Regions from separate parts of the Homo sapiens genome. Here regions 2, 3, 4, 5 and 6 are each linked to region 1. The links are contacts of gene promoters, found by promoter capture Hi-C in blood cells and fetal thymus (Javierre and others, 2016). All regions are on one chromosome and are shown on one strand. Each heading gives the region's core, a stretch centred on a gene start or on the middle of the fragment in contact. The rest is flanking DNA. Distances are from core to core; before and after follow the strand shown.

Region 1 (4,088 bases), core at 1,077-3,576:
TGAGAGCAAAAATAATAGATTTGCTTAAAAGCAACACTCTTCTTCCAGTGATGGCTAAAAGAACTAATGGACAGAAACGGGACTTAAAGCCAAGAAGCACCCCCTCTGAATAGCCCCGTGAAACTATTTTTCTGGGTGGATTAACAACGAAAAATCTAATTCTGTATTAAAATCCTCAATCTTCATCAGTCAATATGCCTAGCTACACACCAACTGACTCTTAAACTGACAGATTTCCCTGGGAGGAGAAGACTCATGTGTTGCTGCCTCAGTATACCCAAGAGAATGGGAACGAGAAAGCTTATTTCGAATCAATACTTAGTATGGCTTAAAAATGCTTGCCTGCTGAAACTTTATTGACTTCAGGAGTTCTGGAAAAGGAATCACATTTTCCTTCTTTGGCACCTTGCCTTTAGGGGATAAGAATCTGGGAAATCATGAGCACGATTTTTCCAGACTCTGAGTAGAGAGTGGAAATATATGCAAAGGCAGTGAGGAGTGAGATGGAGACTGACTTTTTTCATACATGCCAGATGGATAAACCCCAAAGGGAAACAAAACTGTTGGGTTAGGAGAGGACCAATGGATGGCTTCATGCCACAGTCTGCTCCTCACATAGCATCATCCAGCTGGAAGTGTATTAAAAGAACTTTGGATAGGTATGACCAAACATCTTGTGTAGCAATTGGCCAAATGCCAACTGATCCTCAGACAAGGTATACTAAAATGTAAAGACAGCTGGGTATTAAAAACAAAACAAAACCAAGAAATGTGCTAAGGAAACAGAACACACAAAGGCCATCTCTCCTCAAGTTGTCCCTTTGCTAACCAAGGAAAAAAATAAATGATGTACAACTTTAAGTCTGAAGGTTAGTGTAAAGATAAGGCTATGTGAAAAACACAGTTGTTATTGCATTTTCAAAGGGGAAAGGGAATAACACCATGGCCATGGTATTACATATGACTTTTCTCTTTGGTTGAGTTCATACCATAAGGAACATCTCAGAAGTTCTGGAAATAAGAGGCTGAGAACTGAATTCCATTGAGAACTGAGCAAGATTTTATAAGCAACATAATCAAGCAACTCTTCAAAACCCTTCATGTAAGGTTTTAGAAATACTGGCTTTAAATAAAGATTTATCTTTTCCCAAAACTAAGCACCTGCTCTTACTGTTTTCTTGGCATATAATCATGAATTTGTACCTGATCCCTGTATATATGATATTCACAAACATAACTTTTCCATTGACAATAATCCCAGTATCTCATATTTTGTTCTTATTTGCTCTGACATTGTTAATCTAGCTCTCCCAAACCAAAGTCTTGTTATTTCTTTCTGTTTCCCTATTGTAGCCAGAGGACATTTTCATACCTCTCTAGATTTGTTTCTCTAGCTTGTTAGTTCTACTGCTTCCCTGAAATATCTTTCTCGTTTATTAATTTGGCATCTTGAGAGCCCACTCATTTCTAATCACTTTTTACCATGTTTTATTTTGCCTCTGTTTTTAATAATTCTCACCTTTCTCTCTTTCTGATGTCACGTACAAGCAAAATAGGTTTCAGAGGAAACAGTGCCATTAGTTAAGTGAAAGAAATGTGAACCTCTGTGTTTACTATAGGTTACATTTTATAAATGCAGAAACAATCATAATTATTAATCAAATACCGTAGTTTTACTTTTGGCCTAAAATTTATTTGGGGTAAATATCAGGATCAGTAAATAAATCCAAGATACTTTATTTTTTATAATTTTTCAAAAATAAAATGATCTTATATCAGAGTTCACCAACTTTAGTTACAATGTTTGCATCTCAGTTTCTACACAAATAGAAAATGATTGAATAAAGACTTTATTCAAATTGACAAATTAGCCAAGTTGTAAAGTATTCTATAACTAATTCTGAATTGTAAACCCTGTTCCAAATTAAGAAAAAGATGTCCTAAAATATATTAACATCGTTGTAAAACAATTTAGAAGACTGTAAATTAAAAATCCATTTCAAAATAATTTTAAGTTTTAAATTTCTACATTTTAACAATGTTAATATTTTTCTAATAATTGATTTGAAGTAATTGCAGAGAATACAAACTATTGACAAGCTTTCTCACCTAATAATTATGTAAGTAAGTCATTTAGTCTTCCACAGTTCCTTGATGGTCCTATCTGATTTCAAGTGACTAAAATAAATCTGTTATGTCTTACCTTATAAAGTTTGTCAAACAGGAATTAAAGACTAGTTGAGTAAATGCCAACAGCAAGGACTGTGGTTGGGGGTGAAGTTAGCTATTTGATATTGTTCTGTTCTGTGGGAAATAAAAGTGTCTTTGCTTTAGGATCTTTTGCAGTCTTTTGTTCATGTTTATTCGACTAAGTCAAAGCAAGAGTGGTCAGGCATTTGGCCAGGGTGCAAGATCTGGGTGGGATCAGTAAGCAATTTAAAGGAACAGTGTCCTTTCAGAATGAGACTGTGTTTTCCAGACTATTGTAAAAACAACTTGAGAGAACTTTCTACATTTTAGGCATTGGTTGACAGCCTGCCTTTTTTTCTCATGCTATGTCCTTCTCTTTTTATTGCTACATTTCTTTGCCTGGGGGATGTGCTCTAAGATACTGGTTCTGAACATCTCTGTGAAGGAGTATAAATGACACCAGACTCAGAATCAAAGCTGTTTTTTTAAGAGAGGTAACAGTTTGATTGTTATTAAAGCTGGATGATGAGTACATAGGTGTGCATTGTTCTAGTCTTTGTATTTCTGTGATTTTTGAAATTTTTTATAATAAAAGGTATATATAATATACAGGGAAAGAGTGGTCTGAGTATAGTCATAGTTCTGCCCCTAACTTTTATGGGGGCTTCAGTTCCCCACTTATGAAATGAGAGAGTAGATTTAATCATTTATTAAGATGTGTTCGAACTGTAACATGAGAGGTTTACAGCGGTTAATATTTTGGTCTCTCTCTAGGAAAGGATCACTGTGGTTTTTCCACTCCCTGTTTCCCTATTTTCTACCTTGTGGTTATGGTCCATATTAAGTCAATGTTTATCATGTAATATATACTGCCAAGAAGCCACCTGACCCCTAGACAGCTAACAGGCAGGCTTCTCCACGGACTTCCTCTGAAATAGAGAATAGCAAGATCATCCGAGAAAGCAATACAAATGTGCATGTTACGGTTATTTAAAATGAACTTTCTTAGCCATTTTAATGTGTATGAATTTCCTTATTACAGCAATAATAGCCTCCAATTCATGGACACTTACCAGGTGCTAGGCACTGTCCTGAGTGCTTCACACACATTACCTCATTTAATCCTTCACAAGCACAACCACCTATATACAGTAAGTCCTCACTTAATGTCCTCTGTAGGTTCTGGAAACTGTGACATAAAGTGAAACAATTGATAATGAAGACAATTTTCCCAAGAGCTAATTGATATAAATAAGAGTTAAGCTCTTATGGCATATTCCTAGTCACAAAAACATCACTAAACCTCTAAATACTCAAAACACCTCTAATAATAAACATTGAAATAAATCTAAGCTATATATACATTTATGAAAGATTGATAAAAACAAGATAACTGCTTACCTGCATATTCCAGTTCAGGGTCACGGTTGACCAGATCCTGTCCCAGCAGCTGAGGATACAAGGCAGGAACCAGCCCTGGACAGGATGCAGTACTGTCAAAGGGCACTCATACACCCACCCACTCTCTCAGACAGGCACCATGTAGACACACCAATGCATCTAATGGGCAAAGCTTTGGGATGTGGGAGGAAACTCCAGGACCTGGAGAAAACCCACACAGACATGGGGAAAACATGTCAACTCCACACAGTGAGCCTGGCCCAGGAATTGAATTTTTTTTCTCATCAATGTTATAACAAAATGACATTGAACAAAATATTATTCCAGGACCCCTTGTACTTAGTAGATGTTGTAAGAATTCGAATTTTTCCAAGATGGAGGCAGAGAGAGGTTCAGTAACTTGTCCGCTGTCATACTAAAACCAGAGAATGGCAAAATGAACTTTTAACTCAGGCTGGTAAGACCTGTGAGCCTCACTTATAACAACTACTGCATCA
Region 2 (4,088 bases), core at 987-3,486, 780 kb after region 1:
GAATGCAGTTAAGTCCAATGGTTTCTTTGTTGAATTTCTGCCTCAATGATCTGTCTAGTGCTGTCAGTGGAGTATTAAAGTCCCTGACTATTATTGTGTTGCTGTCTATCTCTTTTGTTAGGTCTAGTAGTAATTGCTTTATGAATCTGGGAACTCCAGAGTTAGGTGCATATATATTTAGGATTGTTATGTCTTTTTGTTGAATTGATCCTTTTATCATTATATAATGACCTTCTTTGTCTTTTTTCACTATTGTTGCTTTAAAGTCTGTTTTATCTGATACAAGAATAGCTATTCCTGTGTGCTTTTGGTTTCCATTTGCATGAAATGTCTTTTTCCACCCCTTTACCTTGAGTCTGTAAGAATCTTTCTGTGTTAGGTTTGTCTCCTGAAGACAGCGGATATTTGGTTTGTAACTTTTAATTCATTCTGCCAATCTGTATCCTTTTTTAAAGTTTTAAGTTCAGGGGTACATGTGCATGATGTGCAGGTTTGTTACTTATATAATCATGTGTCATGGGGATTTGTTATATAGATTATTTTATCACCTAGGTATTAAGCCTAGTATCCATTGGTTATTTTTCCTGATCCTTTCCCTCCTCCCACCTTCCAACCTCCTATAGATCCCTGTGTGTGTTGTTCCCCTCTATGTGTCCATGTGTTCTCATCATTTAGATCTCACTTATAAGTGAGAACATGCTCTATTTAGTTTTCTGTTCCTGTGTTAGTTTGCTAAGGATATTGGCCTCCAGCTCCCTCCATGTCCCTGCAAAGGACATCATCTTGTTCTTTTTTATGACTGCATTGTATTCCATGGTGTATATGTACCACATTTTGTTTATCCAGTCTATCACTGATGGGCATTTACGTTGATTCCATGTGTTTGCCATTGTGAATAGTGCTGGAATAAACATATGCTTGCATATGTCTTTACAATAGAACAATTTATATTCCTGTGGGTATATGTCCAGTAATGAGATTGCTGGGTTAAATGGTATTTCTGTCTTCAGGTCTTTGAGGAATCGCCACACTGTCTTCCACGATCTGTATCTTTTAAGTGGAGAATTTAGAACATTTACATTCAACATTAATATTGAGATGTGAAGTACTGTTCCAATCATCGTGTTGATTGTTACTTAGTGAAGTTGTTTTCTTCATTGTGTTCTTGTTTTATAAGCCCTGTGAATTTTATGCTTTGAAGAGTTTCTATTCTGATGTGTATTGACCTTTTGTCTCAAGATTTAGAACTCCTTTTAGCATTTCTTGTAGGGCTGGTTTAGTATTGACAAACTCCCTTAGCATTTGCTTGTCTGAGAAAGATTTTATTTCTCTTTCATTTATGAAACTTAGTTTTGCTAGATACAAAATTTTTGGCTGAGAGTTATTCTGTTTAAAGGGACTAAAGATAAGACCCCAATCCCTTCTGGCTTGTAAAGTTTCTGCTGCAAAGTCTGCTGTTAGTCTGATAGGTTTTCCTTTACAGGTTACCTGATGCATTTGTTTCACTGCTCCTGGAATTCTTTCCTTTACGTTGACTTTAGATACCCTGATGACCAGATACCTTCTTGATGTACTTTTTGCAATCAGTCTCCCAGGAATTATTTGAGCTTCTTGAATTTGGATGTCTAAGTCTCTAGCAAGACCAGGGAAGTTTTCCTTAGTTATTCCCTCAAATAGGTTTTCCAAACTTTTTGCTTTTTCTTCTCCATCAGGAACACAGAATTCTTATGTTTGGCAGTTTTACATAATCCCATATTTCTTGGAGACTTCTTTTATTTTGTTGCATTCTTTTTTTGCTATTTTTGTCTTGTTGGATTACTTCAAATACCTTGTGTTTAAGCTTTGAAATTCTTTCTCCTAATTGGTTGACTCTATTGTTAAAACTTTCGACAGTATTTTGTAGTTCCTTAAATGTGTCTTTCATTTCTGGAAGTTCTGATTGGCTTTTCTTTAAAATATCTATCTCTTTAGAAAATTTTTTATTCATATCCTGAATTGTTTATTACATTTCTGTACGTTGGGTTTCACCTTTCTCTTGTATCTCCTTGAGTAACTTAGTAATCAACCTTTTGAATTCCTTATCTGGTATTTCAAAGATTTTATCTTGGTTTGGATCCAATGCTGGAAAGTTGGTGTGATATTTTGGGGCTGTTAAAGAACCCTGTTTTTTCATATTGCTAGAATTGCTTTTCTGGTTCCTTCTCATTTAGGTAGACTATTTCTTCTAATTATTTTTGAATTTATTTTTGATTCAATGGTTTTTTAAAATTTCATTTATTTCTTCTTGAAGATGTGACTTTAATGTTTATAGTTTATTGTTACCTAGCTTTGGCTGTGGGTGCTTTGAGTGTTAAAGCCTCTGTATGAATTATTTTATTATAGGGAATCTTTGTGCGATGGCTTTCTCAGATGCTGATGGTCTTACCAGCCCTATAAGAGATGTTAAAAGGAGTTCTAAATCTTGAGACAAAGGTCAGTATGCATCAGAATAGACACTCCTCAAAGCATAAAAATCACACAGCCTATAAAGCGAGAGCACAATGAAGAAAACAAGTTCACTAGATTAGTAATGATGTGCTGGGTATGGGAGCAGGTTTTCTGTTTTCTGTGGGGCTGGAATGCAGAGGTCTCATGAAGCTTATCTCATTTTCCAGTGGCGTGCACTTTAAAAAAGCTTTCCTCCCAGGATTTTATTCACTGGGTTAAATGGTTCAGGCTTCGGGCCAGTAGGAGATGCTCATGGGGAAAAACTGGCTTTGGCTAAAGCAGGTGGGTAAATGCAATACCCTAATATTGGGCAGACGTCCCAGCTTTGACAGAGGTGGTTGGGTGAACTCTCAGTAAAAATGCACTGAAGTCTTTTCAGAGGGAGGGGAGGGAGCCACCACAGCTTTCCTTCCAGACCAGCAGGAAAGCAATCTGCCTTCCAGTCATACTCCTGACCTGGTGTTCTGGCTATACAGATCAGACAGGCATCTCTTTTTATCTGCAAGAATGCTGATGCTTCATTTAGAGAGAGATTGTGACTCTACCTCTCATGCAAGCCTGAACCTGGAGGGCATTCCTTCTCTGGGGATACAGTCACCCTGAAGTTCCAGAAAGGCTGCCTACAGATGCACTCATGCTGGGATTCCATGGGAGAAGCCCTAGTTGTGTCTACAGTGGTGAGTAAAAGGGAGGAGTCCCCTCTCCAAGACCCTTCACAAGCACCAGGGCTACCTGACTACTGGAGTAGAGCTGCAGAGTTTCCCCACTGAGCCCAGCATTGCACCTGTGCCTCTGCTGAAGAAAACATCCCACAGGTGGAAAGTTCAGGGACTGAAGGCTTGCAGTCCAGTATCTTTTGTCCCATGCTCCCTTAATGTGATACACTCCCTCTTCCCCTAAGTGTAGCAGTCCCTGAGGACCAGAGTACTGTGAATCCTTTTGCTCCTCTGGGTCTAGCTGCCCAGTGGGGCTGCCACACTCTAGGCTCCAGTGATGTGACTTATCCTCTAGTCTCTAAGCAGCAAATACCAGCACCAGCTCTGGTAGTGGTGGGAGGGGAGTGATGTAAACTGTGAGATTTCCTTGGTTATAAATGGCTTTAGTGTGTTGAGTTTTTCAAATGCCAGCTGTAGTCCTAACTTACTAGGCACACGGACAAACTCAAGCCTTCCTGGTTAGCGAGAGTGATGCAGGCAGTGAGGATAGATGAGGCCATGCAAAAGTTTTCTCCTTTCTGATTGCTGTGTTATTGTGCCTGTAGCTGCTGTCATGGGCTGTGCTGGTTGACCACCAGCCAGAAGGCGGTGCTTGCAAAAGAGCACCAGCTTGATGGTAGCAGTAGAATTTGTGCTTGGTTTATGTTATCCAGGAGAGGTATTCTGATGTCTCAGGTAATGGGTGGTGCCATGGAGCTCCCAAATGTCTTATTCTGTTGTGTTAGGCTACCAGGGCAGGTGGAAGGACAAATCTGGGTGTGGGCTGGGTCAGGTAAGTTTGTGCTCTGGGTCCCTATGTGGAGATTGAAGAGCAGTTCCCTGGCCATTGGGGTAATGTTCCAGGGAGGAGTGCAGCTGCCTCTGCTGCACAAAAAAATCTGCATG
Region 3 (4,088 bases), core at 651-3,150, 700 kb after region 1:
AGAAAATAAGATAATGTATAAAACTTATGTAAAAGATAATCTCTCTATAGAATATGCACATTAAAAGGTTGGAAGGATACACTCCAAAGACTGATTATTTTAGGGGAATGGCATTCTCAAGAGTGGGCCATAGAATGGATTTCTTTGGCCGGGCGCGGTGGCTCATGCCTGTAATCCCAGCACTTTGGGAGGCTGAGGTGGGCAGATCATGAGGTCAAGAGATCGAGACCATCCTGGCCAACATGGTGAAACCCCGTCTGTACTAAAAATACAAAAATTAGCCAGGCGTGGTGGCACATGCCTGTAATCCCAGCTACTCGGGAGGCTGAGGCAGGAGAATCACTTGAACCAGGGAGGCGGAGGTTGCAGTGAGCTGAGATTGCACCACTGAACTCCAGCCTGGGTGACAGAGTGAGACTCCATCTCAAAAAAAAAAAATGTATTATTATAATTAATTGTGCATTTGAAAAATATGTAACACATTTGTTTTTCATGATACAAATTAAAGAAAATAAAAGTTCACAAAGATCTGCTTGCTTGGTGGGTCATGGGTTCAAAAGAATTTGGAAACACTGCTTGAAGAGCTCTGGACCTTACAAGAGGTTTAACATGCTGCTCAGATATGTTATAGGCACATAAATGTCAGCGCTAACATTGCCAAATGGTTACCACATCTACTTTATTCAGCATCATTTACTTTTGACAATAATTGGCTCCTGAATGTTCAGGAAGGTTGAAGTCATGACTCTAAATTAATAAGCACGAGTCGTGTGTGGTTGTAGAATCATTCTTTATTTTATAGCTACCCTAACATAAAATTCCCTTGTAACTCTAATGTTAGAAGTTATAAATAAGATAGTAATAAAAACGCATCAACTCATTACATTAGACAAAATGGTGGTAAGAAAAACTATCAGTAGGTTCCCAAGAGAAAAGTTACACATAAATGAATTTCTTAGAGAATGCACATTAGGTAAGAATTTACAATATTTTTGTTACTTGGTTTTCACACCATATTTAACAGAGATACTGAATTTGGCTCAGCATTGGTGAGGGCTAACATGATACTTACTGCCAATGTATCTCTTGTTTTTCCATTCAATAGATGTTTATTGATCATATGCTATATGCTTTCTACTTTCCCAATTCAGAAAAGATGACAAATTACTTACCATTTGTGTCCTGACATGTTTTCTTCTTCTTCTATTGTTGATGATTTGGGGAGAAGGGGCAGGAAAAAAGCATGAGAGGATAAGTTATATTATAACCTGAAATAAAACAAATATGTTTAATAGTTACACACCATATTATAGTTACATATTAATGTGACACACATAAAAGCCTTCAACCTAAGCCATTTCTAGCTGTATTTTAGGGTCTAACACTGTTACACAGTAATGCTGCACACTGGTGATGACAACAATATAGCTAAGTAACACTGGAAGAAATATTCCAAATAAAGTTTAAAAAGTGAACAGGCAGATTGAATGAAAAAGCAGGTTGCAGAAGACTACATAAAATATAATATCATTTATATAAAGCTTAAAAATATGTAAAACAATACTATATGTTGTTGAGGTATACAATATTATAAGGTGAAGGTATAAAGAATTGCTTAGGAATGATGAACACTAAGTTCCAGACAGCAGACCACGGCAGGAGATGGTGTGGGATGTGATGTGAGAGAGATATACAGCAGCTTCAAGTGCACACATAGTGTTCTCTTTGTGAAGCTAGGTGGTGAATATATTGCATCTGTATGCCTCCTTACAGATTTGAAATATTTTATAATCAACATTTTTAAAGAAACAAACCAGCACATTGCAAAAATAGAAACAAAAATAGAACAAAATTTTAAAACCCCAAATAAAAACCAAAAAAGGGTTGATATGCTTGAATAAGATAGCAAGAAGGGCACAAAGGTGGAAAATAGGTATCTACCAGCCTAGCCTTGTATATTTATCTCGTTAGTAAATACTGGAGTCAATGTCTCTGCCCTTACTCCATTTGCTCCACTCATGGAAGCTAGCCCACCCCAGGGCCCACCAGCCCAGCCACATTAGCCCACTTGCCAGCAGTTACTGGAAAGAACAGAAAGCTCACTACTCAAAGGAATGGTCACTGGCCAGAGGCAAAACCTCTAGCTGCCAGAGTGAGTGCTCACAGCATATGAATGCCCAGACTGCTTCACAAAATCAATCCAATCATTCTCCTTTGGTCTCAGAAAGGATCCTGGCAACCAGTACTCCTAAAGTGATTAAAGCTTTCCTAGGCTATTTAAAAACATTTCAAGGGGACAAAATTACGATGTGCAAATCCCACGCTTCAGGTATGCAGACAAGAGAGAGGAAGAAGAGAATTTCCAGAGTGTCAGATGCCTCTGATATGACAGCATCCTGCAGTGAACATCTCTCTTCCTTGTGGAGAGCATCCAAATATCTGGACGAGCTGCTTTTGGGAATGACATTCAGGGTAAGTAAGTAAGCTCTGCCCTCCACTCAGTGCATCATGGAGAGGCTACCAACACCCAGTCCTCTCACCACCCAGACAGCTTCACTGTAAGTACACATTTACTTTAGTTAGCTTGAAATTTCCAACAAATTTTTTCATAAAAAGAGGGTGTTCAAAGGAAATGGAATTATCATATTCTTCTCTTGAGTTCAATGTCACCATGAACTATTAGGATAGTTGGTACTTTTTGATTAATATTTTTATTATGGTAAAAAAGTTTATTCTTTTAATTTAAAAGTGTACAGTATAGTAGTGCTAACAATATACACTTTGTTGTACAACAGATCTCTAGAACTTTTTCATCTTGCATGATGGAAATTCTACACCCATTGAACAACTCCCCATTTTCCCCTCCCACAGCCCCCAGCAACCACTATTCTAGTTTCTGATTCTATGAATTTGACTACTTTAGATACCTCATAAAAATGCAAACACTCAGTATTTGTGTTCTTGTGATTGGCTTATTTCACTTAGCATAATGCATTTAAGGTTCATCTGTGTTGTAGTATATGACAGGACTTCCTTTTTAAGGCTGAATGATATTGCATTGTATATGCAATGTTGAAGACAGACACACACACACACACACACACACACACACACACCATTTTCTTTAACCATTCATGTGTCAATGGATATTTAGGTTGCTTTCACATCTTGGCTATTGGGAATAATGCTGCAATAAACACAGTATACAGTGTCAAATTCATTGACAGGTTCTTGGAAGCTGCAACTATAGGCAAAGTGATATACACAGGTCCAGAATAACACTGTTTCATAATAATATTGATAAGAAAAAAATGGCTTATGTCGTTTTGCCTAAAGTTGCAGTTTCCAAGAACTATCAATGACATTAAATGAGGTCTTAATGTATCTCTCTGAGATCCTGTATTCAATTCTTTTGCACAAATACACAGAATTTGGACTGCTGGATTATACAGTTCTCTACTTAATTTTTTGAGGAAACTGCCTATTGTTTTCCACAGCAGCTGCACCATTTCAAGCCCACTGATGGTATGCAAGGGTCCCACTTTCTCCACATCCTTGTTAATGTTTGTTTCCATTTTTAAAAATAATAGCCATCCGAAGCATTGTGAGGTGATATCTCATGGTTTTGGTTTACAGTTCTCTGATTAGTGATGTTGTGCATCTTTTCATATTTTTTTGCCATTTGTATATTTTCTTTGGAGAAATGTCTATGCAGGTCTTTTGCCCATTTTTAAATTGGGTCATTTTGTTATTGACCCAACTTAATTTGCAGGAGTTATTGCAGGAGTTCTCTATATATTCCAGATATTGATCCCTTATCCAATATATGGTTTGCAAATATTTTCTCATATTCTGTAGGTTAGCTTTTCACTCTGTTGACTATTTCCTTTACTATGACTTTTTAATTAATTTTTGCTTATTAAAATGCCTTTTAATTTAAATCCTTCATAGTGTAAGTTCTTATAGTATGTGTTATTTATAGTTATAGTTAACAAAAATTGCTGAGCAAATTGCCCCTTCTACCTAGATTTCCAGGCTATTCCCAGATCATGATACCATACGGCAGTGTTCCTCAAGGTATTGTTTAA
Region 4 (4,088 bases), core at 619-3,118, 650 kb after region 1:
ACACTTAGACTACACTAAATTTATAACAAATGTTTTTCTTTCTTTGATAATAAATTAACCTTAGCTTACTGTAACTTTTTTACTTTATAAACATCTTTAAACATTTTTAAATTTTTTGACTCTTCTGTAATAATTCTTGTCATAAAGCACAAACACATTGTACAACTGTACAAAAGATTTCTTTATATCCTTATTCTATAAGCTTTTTTCTATCTTTAACTTTTTTCACTTTTTAAACTTCTTTGTTAAAAACTAAGACACACATTAGCCCAGATTTGCACAGATTTAGTATCATCAAGATGTCACTAGGCAATAGGAATTGTCAGCCCCATTGTTATCTTATGGGACCACCATCATAAAATGTCATTATATGGTACTTGACTGTGTCTCCATTTTTCAGATGAAGACACTGAAATATTCAGAAGTTAAGAAACCTGCCTGAGATTATACTGCTACGAAGTGGGGAAGCCACAGTTTGAACCCAGGAGATGCTCACTGCAGAGACTGAGTTCCTCACCAAGGCACCAGGCTGTTTCTTACGCTAAAGGCATCCTAAGGGAACATAATGGAATGGGGATTGGAAAAACTCTTAGATAATGTTTTCTTGGGGTGTTTTGTTATTTATATGAAAAGAAAAGATTTTCCAGTTATAATTATCAAACTGCTTTCATAGAACCAAAATAAATAAGATACTTTGAGAGTACAGGAAAGTTATATAAGTTCACATTGCATAATGACACACTTATTTGGTTTCTAAGTTTCATCATTTCTACGCTGAAAATCTCTCATCTTTTCCCTCCTCTCCATTCTTGTAGCATCCTACACAGAGCTACCAAAATTAACTCTCCTCAAAACTGCTCTTCCATGGTCGCTTCCTTGCCCAGGAACCTTCATACCGACATAATTTCATAATGTCCGATATCAAGGCACAGAGTCAAGATTCCAACCTGAACCACTCTGTTATGCCACCTTCCAAATGACAGGTGACTTCTTTGAATCACTTCGATTGTTACTATTTTAAAAGTGAGTGTGGAGTAAGGGTGGAAGCCTAGAAGGGATTTTTGGTAGAATTATAATTAGGGCATTATAAATATAGGACAGCAAGAGGTAGCTGGGACTTCAGAAATATTTTGGGAGGTAAGGAATATTTTAAACTTGGGAGTACCAGAGTTGCTGCCAATCCTGCCTCTCTTCAGGGCAGGGAAGGCCCCAAGGAGAGCAAGAGAGAACCTTTTTTGGCCATGGCTCCCTAGGGCAGAGAAGAAGCAAGCATTCAGGGCAGTACTTACAGGAATCAAGACTATGGTTTGGTGGGAGCATCCCTGTATTCTATCTTTCAGTGACGCAAAGAGGAGGGCAAGACTTTCCTTGATGAGGCCAGGGGACCATGCCAAACTGTTAGGATGGTAGATGCAGAAGCTATGCTTCCCAGTGAACCAGATTTGATACCCTGGGAGAGGAGTCAATTAAAATAGAAATCAGGGGAGTGAGCCCGCGAGCCAACCCCTCTGCAAAGACTTCATCTGATTCAGACCCTCCTGAGCTTTTACAGAACCCAGTGCCCATTGCAATCATAGCACTTATGAACATTCACTTAAAGATCTGTCTCCCCAAGTAAACACTGCACCCTGTGAGTGCTGGGATCTGTATTATTTGACTGTATTCCCACCAAGCCCAGAGCCTGCACAAAGCATGTGCCCTGAGTAAAATGCCTCTGAATGAATAAAATGAGGGTAGAGCTTTGATCAATTGGGGTCATTATACTAGAAGGAGGCTTATAACTCATTTAGTACAATCCTATTGTCTTACAGATGATGTGATACACAGAGGTTAAAGGGCTTACTAAGGTCCTATGTTGGGTTTAGTGCTAGAGCTGGACCCAGAACCCAGAACACACAGGCGGATTCTTTCGCCTCCTCGCTCTGCTAGGGGCATGAAGACAGAAGACAGCCCCCACAGTCATTCTAACATTTGTTGGCTGGCTATTGGGAATGCAGAATACATTTTCCCATGGAGGCAGGTTTTTTCTTCTTCTTTTTTTTAAATGGTGGTTCGGTTCCCAGGCCAGGCCACAAAAGCCTATTTACCCCATAGCTGAGCTCAACTATAAAACCAGCGGTAGCTCTGAGGCCTCACTGAACCCCCAGCTCCGAGCCTGCAGTCCGAGGGGCAGGTGGGCAGCTGGCTCTGCAAGGGGGGTAGGCAGCGCTCCCTTGAGCAGACCAGGAGTGTGGGGAGGGGGCTGGGCAGGGGGGCTGGGCAGGGGGCCCAGGCAGCAGCTGCAGGAGCCTACAGCAGCCTCTGAATGCCTTGGTGGTTCTTAAGTGGATTGTTTGTAAGTTGGGAACTGTCTGTACTTAGAAAGGCGGATTTCAAGAGGTAGGGGATCCTATTTCACTTGAAGGCCCACAGTAATGAGGGTTCTTTATTCGTAATGAAGTAAGCCACTAATTGGAGGGACGGGCTCAGGAGGCCTGGTGGAATTTTGTACTCCTGGACCAGAACTGAGTAATATTATGCAGTAGCCTGGCAACCCTTTACTTTTGCACAAAATTCATATAAAAATCTACCATGAAGTGCCTGTCTGACATTCACTGTGTTTATTATTAATAATGATAATAACAGGGTAGCTTATACACAGCCTTAAGGCTAAGAAAGTAAATTGAATTCTCAGTTTCTTCCAGTTTTTTTTTTTTCCGCAGTCAGATTAGGAACATTTGGAAAGTCCTTACTCTCCGAGTGGGCTGAAACCTTTCATATTTACCCAGAGGAGACATGGCTGTAGTTTCTAAGGACTCATCCAAGAGATGATCTCTTTCCTTCCTCTGCCTCCTCAGAGAGGCAGAAACATTCCATAAACTCACAAATGTTGTAAAAGTAAATGTACAAAAAAATAATATTAATGGAACTGAAAACGTTACAGTAGAGAAATCAATTATAATAAGGTAATACAGTTAGCTCTTCTGGACTTAATGAAATGTGTTCAACTGCATTGGAATGTTCTGGTGCCCCCTGCAGGATTCTAACACCTCACAGAAATGGTTTAGTACCAATTCAGATGGCTTAGAAAACCCTACAGAGGCAATGTGTTTCTTTTCTCAGGTTCAAATCAACTTAACCTGGCTCAATCACATGCAGAGGGACAAAGCAGGAACTCAATCTAACATTTAAAAGGTTTTTAGCCACCATAAGTTTGTCATTAGAATGGAGGTTTTTGGATCAACAACAGAAACTATTTTTGGTTTGTGAAGTTTATAAATCTAACAGTGCAAAGTTCACGGTTACATGTGTGATCTCTCAATTTTTCTGGGCTGAGTGTTTAGGGAACAAGGAAGTTTGCTTCCATGAGCCTTGCTTTGACTTAGTGCAGAAAAATTAAACATTCTGGAAAGTTAAACATTTAGCTTCTAAATTTTTACTGCCCTGGAATTCCTCAGGAACATGACTCCAGTATGATAATGAACAAATGGTCATCAGAGTTGTTTATTCCATAGTTACAGGTCAGCAGATGTGAGGAACCATCGTCTGACTCCAATAAGCTTTTAAGATGATAGCTGTCCATCGTTCCTGCCCTCCACTTTATACGAGAGTAACTGAAATCACTATTTTGATGTATAATGTCCCTGCTATCATCTAGTCTTAGGTAATTTATCTGAAAGACATTGACCAGGTCTCACTGAATTTGCAAAGAATCATGCTGGCACATAATTCTAATTATATCACAATAGCTACAACATAAATACAGTATTGTAATATTGTACAGACAGTCCTGGATTTGCCATGGTTTGATTTATGATTGTTTGACTTAGAGTTTTTGACTTTGCCAAGATGCAAAAGCAACATGTATTCAGCAGAAACTGTACTTCAAGTACGCAAACAACCACTCTGTTTTTCATTGTCAGTACAGTGTTCAATAAATTACTGTGAAATATTAAGCACTGTAGTATAGTATAGGTTTTGTGTTAGATGATTTTGCCCCACTGTAGGCTAATGTAGGCATTCTGAAAACATTTAAGGTAGCCTGTGGTAAGCTATGCTGTTTGGTAGGTTTGGTGTATTAAATGCATTTCCGATTAGGATATTTTCAA
Region 5 (4,088 bases), core at 855-3,354, 530 kb before region 1:
ATCAAGACAATACATGCGTGAATGAACATAGACCCTTATCAGTGGTTCTGCTTTTGTCCTTTGCTTTGTGATCTTTGCTGGACACTTCTCAGTAGTTCTGCTTTTGCCCTTTGTCCTGTTCCCTCAGAAGCACGTGATCTTTGTTAGACCCTTAGTAGTAGTTCTGCTTTGTACCATTTGAAGCATGTGACCTTTGTACCTATTCCCCATTCTTACACCCCCTCCCCTTTTGAAGCCCTTAATAAAAACTTGCTCATCTGAGACTCAGGGGGCATCATGGTCCTACTGATGTGTAATGTCACCCCCAGCAGCCCAGCTGTAAAATTCCTTTCTTTGTAGTGTCTCTCTTTATTTCTCAGCTGCCTGACACTTATAGAAAATAGAAAGAACCTACATTGAAATATTGGGGGCAGGTTCCACCTATACTTCTTTCATGGATTTACTTATTTTTTGTTTGTCCCCCTGTGTATCCTAGAAACTCCTGGAGGGCAGAGGCATGCCTGCCATCTTCATCATTGCATTACCACCACCCAACACTATTGGGGGACCTGCCCCGATAATCATGTAGGTTCTTTTCTACTTTCCTAAGCGTCAACTGGCTTGAGAAATAAAAGGACAGAGTACAAAAGAGAGAAATTTTAAAGCTGGGCGTCCGGGGGAGACATCACACATTGGTAGGATCCGTGATGCCCCACAAGCCACAAAAACCAGCAAGTTTTTATTAGGGAGTTTCAAAAGGGGAGGCAGTATACGAATAGGTGTGGGTGACAGACATCAAGTACTTAACAGGATAATAGAATATCACAAGGCAAGTGGAGACAGGGCGAGACCACAGGACATTTAGCCCCCCAGCTCTCTTACCTCAAAGCTTGTCTCCTGAAGGCCACAGCTTCTGTCAACTGACCCTTTCCACACCTCCTTTTCTTCAGATTCCAGGAACTGCTCCCTATCCAGCTACTCTATCACAATGCTACTTGCTTTCTCACTCTAGGATCTGTTAAAACAAAAAGTGAGTCTGGGTGCATGGTTCACGCCTGTAATTCCAGCACTTTGGGAGGCCAAGGCAAGAGGGTGGCTTGAGGCCAGGAGTTCAAGACCAGCCTGCTCAACATAGTGAGATTCTCCCCCCACTCCCATCTCTGGTCTCACACACATACACATGGGCACAAATTAAATTTTATCTAAAAATTTAAAAATTGTTTTAAAATTGAAATAGTTACATGGATTATGTATATATTCATTTTGTAAAACTATAGATCTCATGGAAATGGGAACTCTTTACTCTTCCAGCAAAACATTTTTTTAGCCACAAATAAAAGAAGACCAGTGATTTAGCCTGTACACACAAAAAAGACATAAGAAAATACTGCTAAGGCTGGGGCAGGGGTGGGGGAAAGAGATCTAAAAAATTCAAATTTTACTGGGAAGGACCACTAATTAGAATCAGAATAATTACTGTTTTAAAGCATTTAAGAATAGAGCACAATGAACCCCGGGAAGAAATAGATATGATTCAGAGTCGAGCTCACAGAGCAGATGGTACCTCAGCTGAGACTGATAGAATAACATTAATAAGGGCATTCACTGCCATTTATTATCTCCTAACTGCAATGCATTTTGTATAAGTTATTTGTACTCTTCACATCAACCATGGAAAATAATAATTATTCTTATCTTTTGACGTTAAGGAAGTGGTAAGTGGTGTAAGAAGATAAATTAACATGCCAACACCAAACAGCTCAAGTTCGATAACTCAGGAGTGCCCGTGTCTCCCCAAGAGGTTGCTTAGCAGGCAGACCAGGTAGAGAGAGCCCTTCCAAGAAGTGGCAGTGAGATGTGAAACGTCTCAGTGTGTCTCTAAGAACAACAGAAACCAGTACGTAGACCAAGTGGGAAAAGCCAAGGAAGAGGCAGGAATTTCCTCTTAAGATAGCAAGAAGAATAAACAAGAGCAGGACTGAGGGAAGCCATGGGAAATGGGCAAAATACCATGCATTAAGCGAGAAAAAACAACTTTTACTTTAGAATAGGAAAGGGGGAAGGAATGGTGGTAGTCTAGGTAAGCCTAGAAGAGTAAAGGGCAGCAGAGAAAAAATTAGTTGTACTAGGGTTCTCCAGAGGGACAGAATCAATTGGATACATGTATATGAAAAAGGGAGTTTATTAGAGAGAATCGGTTCACAGGATTACAAGGCAAAGTCCCACAATAGGCTGTCTGCAAGCTGGGGAAAGAGAGAAGCTGGTGGTGGCTCAGTCCAAGTCCAAAAGCCTCAAAACCAGGGAAGCCCACAGTGCAAACTTCAGTCTCAGGCTCAGGGCCTGAGAGCCTCGGGGAAGCTGCTGGTGCAAGTCCCAGAGTCCAAAGGCAGAAGAACCTGGAGTCTGATGTCCAAGTGAAGGGGTGGGTTGCCCCTCCACACCTGTGGGTGTTTTAATTAGGTGAAACGAGAGACCTGGAAAAGAAAGAGACACAGAGACAAAGTATAGAGAAAGAAAAAGGGAGCCCAGGGGACCGGCGTTCAGCACACGGAGGATCCCACTGGCCTCTGAGTTCCCTTAGTATTTATTGATCATTATTGGGTGTTTCTCAGAGAGGGGGATGTGGCAGGGTCATAGGATAATAGTGGAGAGAAGGACAGCAGGTAAACACGTGAACAAAGGTCTCAGCATCATAAACAAGGTAAAGAATTAAGTGCTGTGCTTCAGAGATACATACACATAAACATCTCAATGCCTTAAAGAGCAGTATTGCTGTCCACAGGTCCCATCTCCAGCCCTAAGGTGGTTTTCACCTATCTCAGTAGATGGAATATACAATCGGGTTTTACACCGAGACATTCCATTGCCCAGGGACGGGAAGGAGACAGATGCCTTCCTCTTGTCTCAACTGCAAAGAGGCGTTCCTTCCTCTTACTAATCCTCCTCAGCACAGACCCTTTACGGGTGTCGGGCTGGGGGACAGTCAGGTCTTTCTCTTCCCACGAGGCCATATTTCAGACTATCACATGGGGAGAAACCTTGGACAATACCTGGCTTTCCTAGGCAGAGGTCCCTGTGGCCTTCCGCAGTGTTTTGTGTCCCTGGGTACTTGAGATTAGGGAGTGGTGATGACTCTTAACAGGCATGCTGCCTTCAAGCATTTGTTTAACAAAGAACATCCTGCATAACCCTAAATCCATTTAACCCTGAGTTGTTGACACAGCACATGTCTCAGGGAACACAGGTTTGGGGGTAGGGTTACAGATTAAAATGGAGTCTCTTATGTCTACTTTGTATACAGACACATTAACAATCTGATCTCTCTTTCTTTTTCCCACATCCAAGGTCAGGAGGAATGGAAGCAAGCTTCCTGCATGGGAAGAAGAAAAAAAGGCTTCTGGCAGAAGCCTCCACTAGCAAGCCTATCCCACCTTCCTCCGCCTGCTTTGTTCTAGCTGCTCTGGCAGCTGATTGACTGGTGCCCACCCACCTTGAGGGTGGGTCTTCCTTCCCAGTCCACCAACTCAAATGTCAGTCTCCTCTGGCAACACCCTCACAAACACACTCAGGAACAATACTCTAGGCAGCTGTCAATCCAATCAAGTTGACACCTAATTTTAACCAACATACAAGATTTATAAGCTAAGTATGTCAATGATGATAAATAAGTGTTGTGGAGAAAAGCAGAGCAGAGAGGAGAAAAGGAATGCAGAGAAGGGTTTACAAGTTTTAGAAGAATTCATACTTACAGGCCCCTGTTTTCCATAAAAAACAGGAGGCTCATCTTCTGCAGGTACTGAAGGGCTTGGGATGTTGTGAGGGTGAACTTGAAAATAACAGACAAATATCAGAGTTAATGAGGGGAAAAAGAAAAGATGAGTGGGCATCATGGTGGTCCAGCAAAGGAGGAAAACCCAAGCATGAATGTGGACTGGCACCATCAGAGAGGGCAGAGCCTCCAATAACATGGGGCAGTCTGAGAGCCAGAGTCAAGACGTGGGGGAAATGGATCCAGGTTCTGTGTTTGGCACAGTGTGTGTGGAAGAAGGATAAGAGGGCTCGGGAGGACAGGTACAGTGAGTGTGCCTCCACAGGGATGCTCTTTTGGT
Region 6 (4,088 bases), core at 594-3,093, 520 kb before region 1:
GAAATGCAAATCAAAACTACAATGAGATACCATCTCACACCAGTCACAATGGCTATTACTGTTAGTATTATTATTATTATTATTTAGACAAAGTCTCACTCTGTCACCCAGGATGGAGTGCAGTGGTGCTATCTTGGCTCACTGCAACCTCCACCTCCCGGGTTCAAGTAGTTCTCATCCCTTAGCCTCCTAAATAGCTGGGACTACAGGTGTGCGCCACCACACCTGGCTAATTTTTGTATTTTTAGTAGAGACGGGGTTTTGCCATGTTGGCCAGGCTGGTCTCCAACTACTGACCTCAAGTGACCTGCCTACCTCAGCCTCCCAAGGTGCTGGGATAACAGACTTGTGCCCTGATGCCCAGCCACAATGGCTATTAGTAAAAAGCCAAAAAACAACAGATGCTGATGCGGCTACACAGAAAACGGAACGCTTATACATTGTTGGTGGGAAGGTAAATTAGTTCAGCCACTGTGGAAAGCAGTTTGGTGATTTCTCAAAGAACTTATATCAGAATTGCCACCTGACCCAGCAATCTCATTATTGGGTATATAACCAAAGGAATATAAATCATTCCACCATAAAGACATATGCACACCTATGTTCATTGCAGCACTATTTGCAATAGCAAAGACATGGAATCCACCTAAATGTCCATCAGTGATAGACTGTATAAAGATAATGTGGTACATGTTTACAGTGGAATACTATGCAGCCACAAAAATAATGAGCTATGTCCTTTGTAGCAACATGGATCAACATGGATGCAGCTGGAGGCCATTATCCTAAGCAAACTAACAGACAGGAACAGAAAACCAAATACCCCACGTTCTCATTTATAAGTGGAAGTTAAATGTTGAGTACATATAGATACAAAGAGGGGAACTATAGACATCGGGGCCTACTTGAGGATGGAGGGTGAGAGGAAGTTGAGAATTGAAAAACTACCTATCAGGTACTATGCTCATTACCCGGGTGATGAAATAATTTGTACACCAACCACCCCTCCATTGCAACATGCAATTTACCTATTTAACAAACCTGCACATGTGCCCCTGAACCTAAAATAAAAGTTTAGAAAATAAAATAAAGTAGTTGTGAAACTCTTTAAAAGAAAAAAAGGGTCCCCAAGCACAGCTCAGCATCCCTTTGTTTCCTGATGGGAGGTGGGCAGTGGGGATATGAACTTTCCGGGGTGACTGAGGCTCTTCAGTGAAGCAGGGTGCTATGAGATCTGGAGGAGAGAGGCTATATAGGAACAGCCAGGGTGCAGCAGACAACACTCCAATGCTCGGTTGTCTTCAGCTTTCCCTCTGACCTCCTCCCCTCACACCTCCTGCCACCCACCCCACCTCCCCCACAACCCATCTTCCCCGCCACCTCCAAGTCCACTTGTAACTGGCATATGAATGTAGACTGGGCAGTACCTCATTTCTGAAAGGGCTTGCTGCTTCCAGGAAGATTTCACCTAAGGCAAAATCTTACTAGATTTGCAAGCAAAGAGCAAACAACCCCATTAAAAATTGGGCAAAGAACATGAACAGTCACTTCAAAAACAGACATTGGTGCAGCCAACAAGCTTGTAAAAAAATGTTCAACATTACTAACCATTAGAGATACGAAAATCAAAACCACAATGAGATATCATCTCATACCAGTCAAAAGAAAACATGCGGGGAGAAAGGGAATCAGGTGGCAGAAATAAAGGGAAGTATTAAACCTACATCTATGAGCCAGAGAGAAAAAAAAAGACTGAATTTTAATAAAAAAAAAAATGTTCTTACTAGGTTCTTCATTTCACAGGGTAGGAGAAAGAACCTCATCTCTGACTATTTGGAGTTTTCCCAGTTTGCTATTATCCAAGAGAAGATGCTTTTGGATTTTTTTGTATTTCTTTTAGGGATGTAATCACTACTTGTTATTATCCTCCTCTACATTTCATTTCTCCCTCCTCCTTTTGATTGTAAACTCTGACTTTTCAGATCAACTCAAACACTCCCTGGCTGAGTTGTTACCACATAAATACCTGTTGAATTACTAAGTGATTAGTTGAAGTGGAAAATGTAAGAATCGTAGAGTGTTCTGCTTTTACTATAAAAGATTTGATGAAGCTTTTCTTGTGGTTCCTAGGAAAATACATTCTTTTTTTTTGAAGCTTCCACCTCTCTCACAGCTGATGTCCCAGCTTATAAGATTGGAAACTGAGTTGAGATATGAGTCTCCAACTAGGCCGTGAGGTCCTACTGGCCCCTTCAAGCCATGTTAACAATGCCAGGTTAGGAGACTAGAATATTGAGGTCTAGTCCCAGATGCATATAGTAGTATATTACTATACTGTATATTAAGGCTTCACCTGAATGCCTCTTTTGGAAGTTAATAAGAGACCACAGGGAATTTTTAATTACTTTAATTGAGCTTTTTAGAATGTGGAATTTATTCCATTCCAGTTTCAAAAAGACTCTAGTGTCAGTATCCCAATCTTCCCCCACACCAATTACCTATTTCCACTCTGTAACTGATACATTACCAAAGTTTATTATGCAGAATTAACATGACCTAGCTGCAAGGTCCACAGCCAGAAAACAGACATGTCGAAGAGTATTAGTTAAAATGAGAGCTTTTACATAACAATAATCAAATCGGTATGTAGTTATGAATGAGTATCTTTTTTAATGTCAAAAAATTGAGCAGACTCATAAGACAATCGTTGTGCATTAAGTTACCCATTGAGAAAAAATAATTGATTACTTTTTTCCTTTTTTTTGAGACAGGGTCTTGCTCTGTCACCCAGGGTGGAGTGCGGTGGCATGATCTCAGCTCACTGCAGCCTTGACATCCCAGGCTCAGGCGATCCTCCCACCTCAGCTTCCCCAGTAGCTGGGACTACAGGCCTGTGCCACCACGCCCAGCTAATTTTTTGTATTTTTTGTAGAGACAGGGTTTTGTCATATTGCCCAGGCTGGTCTTGAACTCCTGGGCTCAAGCAATCTTCCTGCCTCAGTCTTTCAAAGTGCTGGGATTCCAGATGTGAGCCACCAAACCAGGTGAATAACTCATTTTTAATTTAATGAATTTATTTAAAATTTAGTAAAGATTTTGAAACTTGTTTTCTTCAGCATAAGAAGTATCTACATATATCTTAAAATGTAATTATTCACATATGTTCATGATGTGTCTGACAGGCAAGGAAGGCACGGCCATTTATGTCTCTATAAATCCTCTAAGAACACAAGAAATCCTCTAAGAACACAAATGACTCTGGAGGTGACAAGGCCCATTGGAGATTTTTAGGTGGAGTGGAATGATGACATTGATTTTTTGAAAAGCTAACCTTGACAGCTGTAGGGAGAACCAACTGCAGTTGGGAACTCAGCAGCCCAGAGGTCAATTAGGAAGCAGAGGGGAATGCCGGCTGCGCTGGGATGCAGAGACGCCTCTGTGGTGACTTGGAGACCAACGGAAATTACAATGAGGGAGAGAGAAAATCCAAAGTGTTCTTAAGGGGTGGATTAAAGGAGAAAGCATGATAAGAAATAAGAAATATCAGAGAAGGAGGTGTTGAAATAGGGACAATTGAAGGGTAGAAAAGGGGTTGAAAGGAGGGACAAGTAATATGAATTTAGTTTAATACCTACTAAGGCAGAAGTACCTGAGCTACATCCAGTGGGTAGTTGGATGTCAGTCTAAAACCAAGGAGATCTGAGTTAGAGGTTTAGAAGATAATGAAATATAGTCGTTATAACAACAGCTTCAAAGTCAAATAGACAATGGGTTCAATCAAAGTTCTGCCACGGGATTAGACAAAATTTGGGGTCTTACTGAGCATACACTTCTTCATTTTAGAATGAAGATGGTAATTCTCAGAAGAGTATTTGGTATGAATTGGGTGAGACAAGGCAGGTACAAAAGTTAGCAAAGTGCCTGGCACAAGTACTATGCTAACTGCTCAGTAAATGTTAGATGCCGTTACTATTACGTAAGTTATTGAGTCATGAATAGAGTAGGAATTGAAGCCAGGATGGAAGCTGATAACCCTGAAGTGTGTGAGACAGGAGAATCAAAGACAGGGCCTTGGGGATGCCAACCCA

Evidence for each region. Contacts are between HindIII fragments. The CHiCAGO score rates a contact against its expected background, and 5 or more counts as called.
Region 2: a contact is called between a fragment that was not itself captured here and the fragment with the promoter of COL28A1 in region 1, in 1 of 17 cell types (fetal thymus). The highest score is 5.9, in fetal thymus.
Region 3: a contact is called between a fragment that was not itself captured here and the fragment with the promoter of COL28A1 in region 1, in 2 of 17 cell types (non-activated CD4 T cells and total CD8 T cells). The highest score is 7.7, in non-activated CD4 T cells.
Region 4: a contact is called between a fragment that was not itself captured here and the fragment with the promoter of COL28A1 in region 1, in 1 of 17 cell types (total B cells). The highest score is 5.1, in total B cells.
Region 5: a fragment that was not itself captured here is called in contact with the fragment with the promoter of COL28A1 in region 1 in 1 of 17 cell types (megakaryocytes); the score reaches 7.6 in megakaryocytes.
Region 6: a fragment that was not itself captured here is called in contact with the fragment with the promoter of COL28A1 in region 1 in 10 of 17 cell types (total CD4 T cells, M1 macrophages, total B cells and 7 more); the score reaches 10.0 in total CD4 T cells.

The regions. Positions count from the first base shown.
Region 1 is chr7:7,533,547-7,537,634 of GRCh38, forward strand. It overlaps COL28A1 (collagen type XXVIII alpha 1 chain), which reads right to left and starts at 2,327. Exons shown (of 35, transcript NM_001037763.3): 1 at 2,204-2,327. The HindIII fragment of the contact is 1,663 bases long and covers 2,099-3,761 here.
Region 2 is chr7:8,311,839-8,315,926 of GRCh38, forward strand. All of the region lies in intron 3 of ICA1-AS1 (ICA1 antisense RNA 1), which reads left to right. Among named protein-coding and RNA genes, the nearest start is that of ICA1-AS1, 52 kb to the left of the region's middle. The HindIII fragment of the contact is 797 bases long and covers 1,839-2,635 here.
Region 3 is chr7:8,234,738-8,238,825 of GRCh38, forward strand. It overlaps ICA1 (islet cell autoantigen 1), which reads right to left. Exons shown (of 14, transcript NM_001136020.3): 2 at 1,173-1,268. The coding sequence starts at 1,189. Among named protein-coding and RNA genes, the nearest start is that of ICA1, 25 kb to the right of the region's middle. The HindIII fragment of the contact is 722 bases long and covers 1,540-2,261 here.
Region 4 is chr7:8,187,535-8,191,622 of GRCh38, forward strand. The region is part of intron 6 of ICA1 (islet cell autoantigen 1); the gene reads right to left. Among named protein-coding and RNA genes, the nearest start is that of ICA1, 73 kb to the right of the region's middle. The HindIII fragment of the contact is 3,337 bases long and covers 201-3,537 here.
Region 5 is chr7:6,999,383-7,003,470 of GRCh38, forward strand. All of the region lies in intron 1 of LOC105375138 (a long non-coding RNA gene), which reads left to right. LOC124901585 (a long non-coding RNA gene) reads right to left here and starts at 3,806. Exons shown (of 2, transcript XR_007060204.1): 1 at 3,729-3,806; 2 at 2,146-2,453. RefSeq lists an enhancer at 2,741-3,379. The HindIII fragment of the contact is 2,477 bases long and covers 867-3,343 here.
Region 6 is chr7:7,016,480-7,020,567 of GRCh38, forward strand. The region is part of intron 1 of LOC105375138 (a long non-coding RNA gene); the gene reads left to right. Among named protein-coding and RNA genes, the nearest start is that of MIR3683, 49 kb to the right of the region's middle. The HindIII fragment of the contact is 532 bases long and covers 1,578-2,109 here.